Regions from separate parts of the Homo sapiens genome. Here region 1 is linked to region 2. The links are contacts of gene promoters, found by promoter capture Hi-C in human tissues and cell types (Jung and others, 2019). All regions are on one chromosome and are shown on one strand. The core of a region is centred on a gene start or on the middle of the fragment in contact, and the rest is flanking DNA. Distances in the headings are between cores, read along the strand shown. Region 1 has its middle 79 kb from the start of IPO5. Region 2 holds the start of IPO5 (importin 5).

Region 1 (5,336 bases), core at 2,173-4,672, 79 kb before region 2:
ATCTCATGAGGGAACAGCACACGGAGCAGCCATCTGTGTTTTAAAGGAAGAGTGAAGAACATTGTTTGATCCATGAGTCCCTTAAGTGGAAGTCAAGACCATTAAGGGGAGACAAGTTAAGAGAGCTATTATATATTCCAAAATTTTTTAAGGCCCGCTAGGCATTACACATCAATTAGAAGGGCTAAAATTTAAAACACTGGCAATACCAATTTCTGGTAAAGATGTGGAGCAACAGAAACCCTCATTCATTTCTGATGGGAACACAAAATGGTACAGACACCTTGAAAGACAGTTTGGCAGCTCTTCACAAAGTTAAATAGAGTCTTACAATTTGATCCATCATTGAGCTCCTTAAGTGTTTAATTTGAAGGTTTATGTTCAAACTAACTAATTTGAAGGTTTATGTTCACACCAAAACTTGCACGTGAATGTTTATAGCAGCTTTATTCATAATTGCCAAAAACTGGGAGCAACCAAGCTGTCCTTCAGTGGATGAATAGACAAACTGTGGTATCCATGCAATAAAATGCTATCCAGTAATTAAGAAGAAATGCACTATCAAGCCATGCCAAGAAATAGATGAATCTTAAATACATATGGCTAAGTAAAAGATGCCACCCTGAAAAGGCTGGATACGATGTGATTACACTTGTATGAAATTCTGGAAAAGGCAAAACTATAAAGACAGTAAACAAATTTATGGTTGCCTGCAGATTGGGGAGAGAGAAATGTTGAATAGGTGAAGTGTGTGGGAATATTTTAGTACAGTAAAACTATTCTATATAATATTGCAATGGTGGATACATAACACTATACATTTGTCAAAATCCATAGAACTTTACAACACAAGGAATGAACCTTAATGTAAACAAATTTTTAAAAAATCATATAGGGGAATCACAGGATGGTATGCACAATGTAACAAAACAATCCGACTCTATTACATATGTAGGAAACAACACAACTGAAAGGGTAGAGGGAAAGGGTATGTATTAGTTCATTCTCACACTGCTACAAAGAAATACCCAAGACTGGGTAGTTTATGAAGAAAAGAAGTTTAAGTGGTTCATGGTTCTGCAGGCTGTACAGGAAGCGTAGCAGCTTCTGCTTCTGGGGAGGCCTCAGGGAACTTGCAATCATGGCGGAAGGCAAAGGAGGAGCAAGACACTTCACATGGCTGGCACAGGACAAAGTTGGGGGGAAGGTGCCATATACTTTTAAGCAACCAGATCTCACAAGAACTCACTCATTATCATGAAAACAGCACCAAGGAGGATGGTATTAAACCACGCATGAGAAACTGCCCTCATGTTTCAATCACCTCCCACCAAGCCTCACCTCCAACATTGGGGATTACAATTTAACATGAGAGTGACGTGGGGACATAGATCCAAGCCACATCAGGTGCTGACCTAAGTAACTTTAGAAATGACCAGTCTATAAGACTAAAGGCAAATGGAACTGTATATAAGACTGTACTTTGGGTGATGATGTAGATTTACACAGGGGTACAGGTTAACAATTCCAAAACCACTATACCTGTATTCTGGAATTGAACAATTAAGAAAATGGATGACAGGCCAGACACAGTGGCTCACATCTATAATCCCAGAGCTTTGGGAGGCTGACGTGGGAGAATTGCTTGAGGCCAGGAGTTCAAGACTAGCCTGGGCAACATAATGAGATTTCGTCTCTACAAAACATTTTAAACCTAGCCAGACATGGTGGCACACACCTGTAGGCCCAGCTACTTGGGAGGCTGAGGGAGGAGGATCACTTGAGCCCAGGAGTTTGAGGTTACAGTGAACTATAATCACACCACTGCACTTCAGCCTGGACAACAGAGAGGGACCCTCTCTCTAAGAAAAGAGAAAGAAATGGATGGCAGATGGCAGATGCCAGATTTCTCACCATTGGAGCTGCAGTTTACAGATAAGCAAGGGGAGGTGGCTGGAATGATTCATGTGGTAATGGGTTAGAGCTAAAGACATCAGTATGAACTCATAATTAGCTTAATATAGGTACAGATGATTATATATAGAAATATTTCTAAATTTATAACCGCCTGATGGGTTCTCTTTGCCCACTGCCTAGACAGAGCCAATTTATCAAGACAGGAGAATTGAAATATAGAGTTTAATTCATTCAGTGCTGGCTGTACAGGAGACTGGAGTTTTATTGTAACTCAAATCAGTCTCCCAAAAAACTCAGGGATTGGGGTTTTTAAGACCAATTTGGTGGGTAGGGGGCAGTGAGTTGGGATTGCTGATTGGTTGGGCCGAAGCTGTCCTCTCGCACTGAGTCAGTTCCTGAGTTGGGGCCACAAGACCAGATGAGCCAGTTTATCCATCTGGGTGGCATCAGCCTATCCATCAAGTACAGGGTCTGCAGTCTGCAAAATATCTCAAGCACTGGTCTTAGGTTTTACAATAGTGATGTTATCCTCAGGAGCAATTTGGAGAGGGTCCGAATTTTTAGCCTCCAGCTGCATGACTCCTAAATCGTCATTTCTAATCTTGTGGCTAATTTGTTAGTCCTACAAAGCCAGTCTAGTCCTCAGGTAGGAAGGGGGTTTGTTCCGGGAAGGGCTGTTATTGTCTTTGTTTCAAAGTTAAACTATAAACTAAGTTCCTCCCAAAGTTAGTTCAGCCTATGCCCAGGAATGAACAAGGGCAGCTCAGGGGTTAGAGGCAAGATGGAGTTGGTTAGGTCAAATCTCTTACACTTGTCATAATTTTCTCAGAATTTTTCAATGGCAGTTTGAATGTCTATAAACACATGGCTTATATATCTGTAAACCAAAAAGTCTCTGAGACATGTCTCAATCAGTTTAGAAGTTTATTTTGCCAAGGATAAGGACACGCATCTGGGAGACTGGGTCTGTGACTTTCTCCAAAGATAATTTTGAAGGTTGTAATATTTAAAGGGAAAAGGGCAGATACTGGGGAAAGAGGAAGAAATTTTTTAAAGGTGTGGGTAGATAGGAGACAAAGGGTTGCATTCTTTTGAGCTTTTGATCAGCCTTTCACCAAATACAAAATTTACAGGTCGGGGGCAAGGTAGAGGTCTGGCTCTGTGAATCTGCATTTTTACATACGGTAAAATAAATAAACAATAGGGCCGAAGAAGCAATCAGATAGGCATTTGGTGAGCAGAGGGATGACTTTGAGTTCTGTCCTTTTCCCATACTTGTGAAGATGAGCTATCAACTTACGTTGCCAGGGTGAAATTCAACAGAATAAAACAGGAGGCAGGTTTGCCTGACGCAGTTCCCAGCTTGACTTTTCCCTTTGGCTTAGTGATTTGGGAGTCCCGAGATTTATTTTCCTTTCACGTATCTCTTTGCTCCGTCAGCTAAGAGGGCCAAGAAGTAATGACACCCCTGCAGCCACAAGCACACCTAATGCCCAGATCTTTGTCTCTAATGCCATTCTCCAATAAAAGGAACCAAGGATCCTTGGAGAAATGGCTGAATCTCGGACTAGAGCAGGAAACAATACAAGATAGGACTGTGTTGGAGGAAAAACCGGGTTCTTGTCACAAGATCAGGAAAGAATAGGCTCGCAGTCACTTTGAAGGGTGAGGGAGAATGGAAGTTATTGGGTGAAAAGGAAAAAGTTAGAACAACACAGCAAAGTGAGATGAGGTCCTGCTAACAGGCGGGCTCTCCACCTCACGGATTGAATCCCAGGTTACCACACAGGAACAGGAGGGGCCAGGCTCCTCCCCGCTGCAAACGGGGCAAACTTCCCCGGCTCCACCCCACTCTCCCAGTGCGCAGGCCAGTTGGAGATTCTCCGGGGTCCCCTTTGTATTTGGCTGTCTCAGCTGGAGCATCTTATAGTGCCTGAAATCAAGAAAGTGCTCAAAAAAGTAAAGAAAAATGTTAAAACTCCACAAGGATGTGGGTATATCAAAGGGGTACAGGAACAAAGTGAAAGAGTTCTCTGTGCCTGAAGGTAGAACGATTTGAGCAACAATATTAAGTAGTATTAGATTATAACACAAAACACAAAATAAGTATCCACAAGTCTATAATGGCATAAATAAGTGACTGAATAAATAAATAAATGGGGAGAAGAGACAAGTCTCCTGTGCAGAATTCCATTAATACATGTACATACTCTGCCCAGAATCCCAGTTCTACAAAATACCTGAGGAGTACTTCTCAAAATCGTCAAGGTCAACAAAAACAAGTGATACAGGGGGTAGAAAGAAATTATTTAGGCAGATAGTAGGGCAAAAGAGTCCTCGGCAGAGCTTCCCTTCTAACAAAAAGCAGCCCAAGAAATTATTTTTTTCCTAAGAAAGAGCAGCCTGAAAAATCGAGCTGCAAACATAGATAAGCAAGCTGGATGCCAGCATTCACAGGAGAATGCCAGCAGCTGTGCCAATAGAAAACAGCTACCTGGGAGCCAGGAGTGTCCAACATGGAGGCTCCGTCTTCCATTTGTTTGTTACCATGTGTACGGTAATAAAAAAATGGCGCAACTCAGGCAGAGAACCTACCTCCATAATAAAAGATTAGAGTGGGGGCTACCAGATATTCACGCCCTATGCAAATGGCACACCTGGTCTAACCAGTCTTCCTCCTTACCAGCTCATCTATAAAACCCCCGGCATTTCACCACAGATCAAGCAACCCGTTTTCCAGCACCCCACTCTGCAGAAGAGAGCTCTTCTCTTTCTTTCGCTTATGAAACCTCTGCTATCAACCTCACCCTTTGTGTGTGCCTGCCCTCGTTCTCCATGGACATGAGACAATGAACCTCGGGTGCTATTCCAGACAGTGAGGCCATTTCAAAAGGAAAATCTGAGAAACTGTCACAGCCAAGAAGAGCCTAAGAGGATATGATGACTAAAAGTAATACGGGATTCTGGGTGAGACCATAGAACAGAAAAAGAACATTAGGTAAAAATGAAGGAAATATGAATAGAGTATGAATTTTAGTTAATAACCATATATCGATATTGCTTCGCTAATTACGACAGATGTGCCACACGAAATGTAAGATGTTAGTCATGGAGGAAGCTTGGGGTAGGATATATAGGAACTCTGTACTATATCTGTAATTTTTCTGTAAATGTAAAACTCTTCTAAAATAAATGTGTATTTTTTCAAAGTAAGCTAGGTTAGAAAAGTCACTCATTAGCTGAGTGACTTTTTTCTGTAAATGTAAGAGAGTAATTTTTCTGTAAATGTAAAACTCTTCTAAAATAAGTGTGTATTTTTTCAAAGTAAGCTAGGTTAGAAAAGTCACTCTAGATTTCATTAGAAAAGGAAATCTGCCTTTGGAGGAAATTATTACTTAACTATTACTATATACCAAACA
Region 2 (5,481 bases), core at 1,236-3,735:
ATTTTTCTATTTTTAGTAGAGACAGGGTTTTGCCATGTTGGCCAGGGTGGTCTCGAACTCCTGACCTCAGCCTCCCAAAGTGCTAGGATTAGAGGCATGAGCCACTGTGCCCAGCCACGGTCTTTATCAGCAGCATGAAAACAGACTAATACACCAAGCAACTGGTCAATGTCATAGGCACTGGAGAAACTTCTCGGATTTGTTCTTTTAAAATGTTCTTCAGGAAGGGCACAATGGCTCACCCCTGTAATCCCAGCACTTTGGGAGGCCAAGGTGCTCCCAGCTCACTTGAGGCCAGGAGTTCAAGATCAGCCTAGGCAACACAGTGAGACCCTCCCCCAACGTCTACAAACATTTTTTTAGAACATTAACCAAGTATGGTGGGGCATGCAGTGAGCCATGATTGCATCACTGGACTCCAGGGTGGGTAACAGTGCAAGACTGTCTCTAAAAAAAGAACTAAAAAATAAACAAATACGTAACTAAATAAAATGTTCTTCATACATTTTGCAGTAACCTTGTAACCATTCAATCGCTGATTCTGAATCTATGTAAATTCTGGTATCAGACCCTTGGTAAGATGCTTGAGCAAAATGCCATGAAGACACCTGCCCACAAGCCAAAATGTTAGAAGTCAGGTGCAGTAGCGAGCTCCTGCAGTCCCAACCACTTGGGAGGCTGAGGCAGGAGGATCTCTTGAGCCCATAGTTCGAGACCAGCCTGGGTAACATAATGAGACCCCTGTCTCAAAAACAAAAAAAGAACCAGTGACATAGGATGAGGACGAAGAAGCAAGGAATAGTGCTGAAGAACTTTCAGGATATGCGGGGTGACACTAGAAAGTGCTTAGACATCACACGTTACCAAGAAAAAAATGTGACCTATACAAAGGAGTCTGCCCATGTCCTATGAAACAATTTAAAAATCAAAAATAGGCCGGGTGCGTTGGCTCATGCCTGTAATCCCAGCACTTTGGGAGGCCAAGGTGGGCAGATTACGAAGTCAGGAGATCGAGACCATCCTGGCTAACATGGTGAAACCCCGTCTCTACTAAAAATATAAAAATTAGCCGAGCATGGTGGCGCGTGCCTGTAATCCCAGCTACTTGGGAGGCTGAGGCAGAAGAATCGCTTGAACCAGAGAGGCAGAGGTTGCAGTGAGCTGAGATCACACCAGCCTGGGCAACAGAGAGAGACTCTGTATCAAAAAAAAAAGAAATAAATAATTACAAAAATGGAGTTTGGCTTTAATTAATGATCTGAATTAATAAAAACAACAAAATGCTAGGCCAGCGCAGGGGATCATGCCTGTAATCCCAGCACTTTGAGAGGCCGAGGCAGATGGATCACTTGAGGTCAGGAGTTCAAGACCAGCCTGGCCAACGTGGTGAAACCCCATCTGTACTAAAATACAAAAATTATTCGGGCATGGTGGTGGGCACCTGTAATCCCAGCTACTTGGGAGGCTGAGGCAGGAGAATTTCTTGAACCCGGGAGGTGGAGGTTGCAGTGAGCCGAGATCACGCCACTGCACTCCAGCCTGGGCAACAGAGTGAGAATCTGTCTCAAAAAAAAAAGAAAAGCTAAATGTACAAAGCTAGGGCATTGAGATCCATGAGAATACAGGGCAAAATTGATGTTAATCTGTCATATAAAAATTTAATTACATCCCATAAATATCTGCAATTTTTTATTGTTTATTTTTTGAGACAAGGTCTCACTCTGTTGCCCAGGCTGGAGTGCAGTGGTGCAATCACAGCTCACTGCAGCTTCAACCTCCCCCGGCTCAGATGATCCTCCCACTTCAGCTTCCTGAGCAGCTGGGACTACAGGTGTGCACTGCCACACGCATCTAATATTTGCATTTTTCATAGAGATGGGGTTTTGCCATGTTGCCAAGACTGGTCTTGAACTCCTGAGCTCAAATGATCCTCCCACCTCGGCCTCCCAAAGTGCTGGAATTACAGGCATGAGCCACCCCGCCCAGCCAATATTTATAATTATTACATGTCAACTAAAATAAAAGAAAAAGTAATTTAATCACAAACCCAGTTGACATAAACGTATGTAATATGGAATTTCCTGTTGTTTCCATACAAATTTATCTTTGTCTATTTGAGAGATCAATTTCTCTTTTCAGTATTGAGTAGTGAATAGAATCAAAATCTGTGGGTAAAGAAGCTACTCAGACAGTTTCAAAACTGAATTTGATGACACATTTGTACCCAATCTGAGTGGCCCCCAGCAACATGGGTTTTGAGTTCTCAAAGGCCAATAGATAGCTCCCTTTCCTTTCCACAGCTTTGGGAGCTTGGGCTACCCTGTAACGTCTAAATGCCTGTGCAGTGTGGGCCTGTGAAGCTGGCAGGGTGGGCAGTGTAAATGCCCACTAGCAGGAGCCAGCTGACCTCCTGCGTGTCACAATAGCAGCCAGGTGTCTCCACGGTGACGTCTCTGAGCCAGGAGGTCAGAACTGTGGGATTGATGACCTCCCACAACTGGAGCAGCCGGGAACAGCTCTGACCACAGTAAGTCATCCCAAAACCTCACATTCAGATGAAACCATTTAAGAATTTCATCTGCACTGAGGAACAATTTAGCGTGATACTGGAGGGAAAGAGTTTCCCTGTGAGATCCAGGAGGTCCCTTTAGCTCGTCTCCTGACGTCACCACAGTCATACCCAAGAGGAAGGAAACGTCAGAGACAATGATTTGGAGAACATTCTACACAAAAACCAAGTATGAAACAATGACGATTTCATGATGGCTCATTGTTCTTTGGTATTGTGCCTTACGTGAGCTGGGGACTAACTCTGTATCCTTAAGGAGGCATCACTTGATTAGAGTTGCCCAAAAGAATGTGGGTTATTATCCTAAAGGTCTGTGTTGCCATCCTGAAACAGTCAGAAATCAGTTTTTATTTCACTTAGGTGGTTCCGGGGAGAAGCCTTTCCAGGACCCATGTGTAGGCACAACTGTTTTCCCTGATCAGGATACTTGCGGCACTCAAGTGAGTCTAGAATTATCAGATTTTGTTCTGTCTCTCTTCACTGTGAATTCTATTCTTTATTTCCTTTAAAACAAAAAGCTCCTGCTATTTTCTCCTATAATTATGATATCTGTTTCTTGATCATTTTACCTTCTATTCACCAATTAATTGAAATCCAACCCATCAGGATTATCTACCCTGCTTTCCTATAGGGAGAATAAAAAGTGCTTAGAAGCAGTATGATTTTCACTGCCTTTAATTTCTCAAATCCCAAGATGTTCCATTTAAAATCTTTAGAGTATCTATTTTGTCTTCTGTACATTATGGTTGTATTCCCTCAGAGGCCGAGTATATTTTATCTTAGTTTTCAGAGATCACTAAAGTCAAGTAAATGAAGGAAAACAGAATTCATTTTCATTATGGGAAAACAAAATCAATCCCTAAGTAGTCAAAAGATTACTTACTTAAGGAACCACCTGGTTAACTTCTTCTCCTAGAACTTAATCCCCTAACTAGGGGTAAAAAAGGCTCATTGTCATCTTATAAAGTATTAGATACCAGGGACTTGTCAAATGCTAATGCCTTTATTATAGAATGTTTAATTTAGACCTTCCTAAACAGTTTTGCTTTCTTCCGTCATTTGTCTGTGATGGAACCTCAAAGACACTAACTAGTATGCGAGACAGATTTGTGTTGGAACATTGTGTTAGCTTTCCAGTAGAGTTAAAACTCTGGAATGCAATTATAAACCTCCAAATGAAAAATACCGGCCGGGCACAGTGGCTCACACCTATAATCCCAGCACTTTGGGAGGCTGAGGTGGGAGGATCACTTGGGCCTAGGAGTTTAAGGTCAGCCTAGGCAACATAGTGAGACCCTGTCTCTACAAAATATAGAAAAAAGTAGCCAGTTATGGCAGAATGCATCTGTAATTCCAGGGACTCAGGAGGCTGAGGTGAGAGGATTCCTTGAGCTGGGGAGGTCAAGACTGCAGTGAGCCATGACTGTGCCACTGCACTCCAGCCTGGGTGACAGAGTGGGACCCTATCACGAAAAAAAAAAAAGAAAAATACCTAAGTGGCCAAATACCTTATAAAGTTCATGCATGCTACTCTACAGGAAATATCCTCAGCTGTCTTCTCTGTGCTGAGTTCATATACTCTTGTGCCTAGTTCATACATGCTTGGTCATCTGCCTTCCAAAGCACACAGCAAACCAGATGATGAGAGCAGCTGACAAGTGGAGACAGTTGTCATTTTATGTTGGCAGCTACAATAAATGACACTGTCTGATGGAGAAAATGAGCGGGGAAAACACTTCCAAAACACAGGCAGAAATATAAGAGTTGAAATCCCAGAGTTCCAGAACAATTTCACCTCAGGGCAAGCAAGCCTAAGTGGCCTGTGTATCCACCACTCTACCACAACCCAGTGACATAACCGACTTGATGGTCCTCAGACGCCGGAGCTGGGAGGATCCCCTAGGGTGCTGCCCAACTCGCCCCAATTTACAGATGAGGAAATGGAGGCCTCAGGAAGCATTGACAGCCCAGTTCAGGATCACAGCTAGTTAAGGGGGAAGCTGCAACTACAGTCAGGATCCCCTCATCCCAAGGGCCAACTTCTATCCTATACGCCCCACTCTGGAAAGGTGAAAAATAATTCAGCATTTTGGCCAGGCGCAGTGGCTCATGCCTGTAATCCCAGCACTTTGGGAGGCCAAGGCAGGCGGATCACAAGGTCAGGAGACCAAGACCTTCCTGGCTTAACACGGTGAAACCCCGTCTCTACTAAAAATACAAAAAATTAGCCGGGCGTGGTGGCGGGCACCTGTGGTCCCAGCTACTCTGGAGGCTGAGGCGAGACAATGGCGTGAACCCGGGAGGTGGAGCTTGCAGTGAGCCAAGATCGCGCCACTGCACTCCAGCCTGGGCGACAGTGCGAGACTCCGTGTCAAAAAAAAAAAAACGAACAAAAAAAGTAAAAAATAAAAATAATAATAATTCAGTGTTTCAAAAGGTTTCAAAAGGCCAGTAAGGAATTAATACATGTTTAAAGAATTTTCTTGACAAAATGGTTGAAGGCTCATTGGTTACATTTGAGAATTAAATAAGATAAAGCATAGAAGGTTATCCCTCAAACACAGAAAGAAATCAAAATGTTGTCAGTTATTATTATAACTTAAAAATCTGATATATAAAAAAGTGCTTTTTTACAGAAGTCAGAAGAAAGTAGGTTGAGCATTTTTAATACTAATCTTTTAAATACCTTTGCTCTGCCAGAAAATTAATTTTCATAAAGCAATACATTGTTGGATCTCACCCTTAGGAAGGTCTTCCCTGGGCACCCTATTTTAACAGTACCCCATCACCTCTAGCTCTTTACTTTGATTTCGTATGCTTTATAACCTATTACCATATGAAACTAAAGATATGTATAAAATCTTTTCTCTAAAGCTTCTCCTAAAGTTCACAGCTAAAATACTATGATTTTC

What was found. The method cuts DNA at HindIII sites, captures the fragments that hold promoters and counts their contacts. A contact is called where the count stands out against the background at its distance.
Region 1: a fragment that was not itself captured here is called in contact with the fragment with the promoter of IPO5 in region 2 in 2 of the 25 tissues and cell types used here (H1 embryonic stem cells and mesendoderm cells).

Annotation. Positions count from the first base shown.
Region 1 is chr13:97,871,688-97,877,023 of GRCh38, forward strand. No RefSeq gene overlaps it. Among named protein-coding and RNA genes, the nearest start is that of IPO5, 79 kb to the right of the region's middle. The HindIII fragment of the contact is 5,327 bases long and covers 760-5,336 here.
Region 2 is chr13:97,951,190-97,956,670 of GRCh38, forward strand. IPO5 (importin 5) reads left to right here and starts at 2,486. Exons shown (of 29, transcript NM_002271.6): 1 at 2,486-2,527; 2 at 2,930-3,009. The HindIII fragment of the contact is 20,218 bases long and covers 1-5,481 here.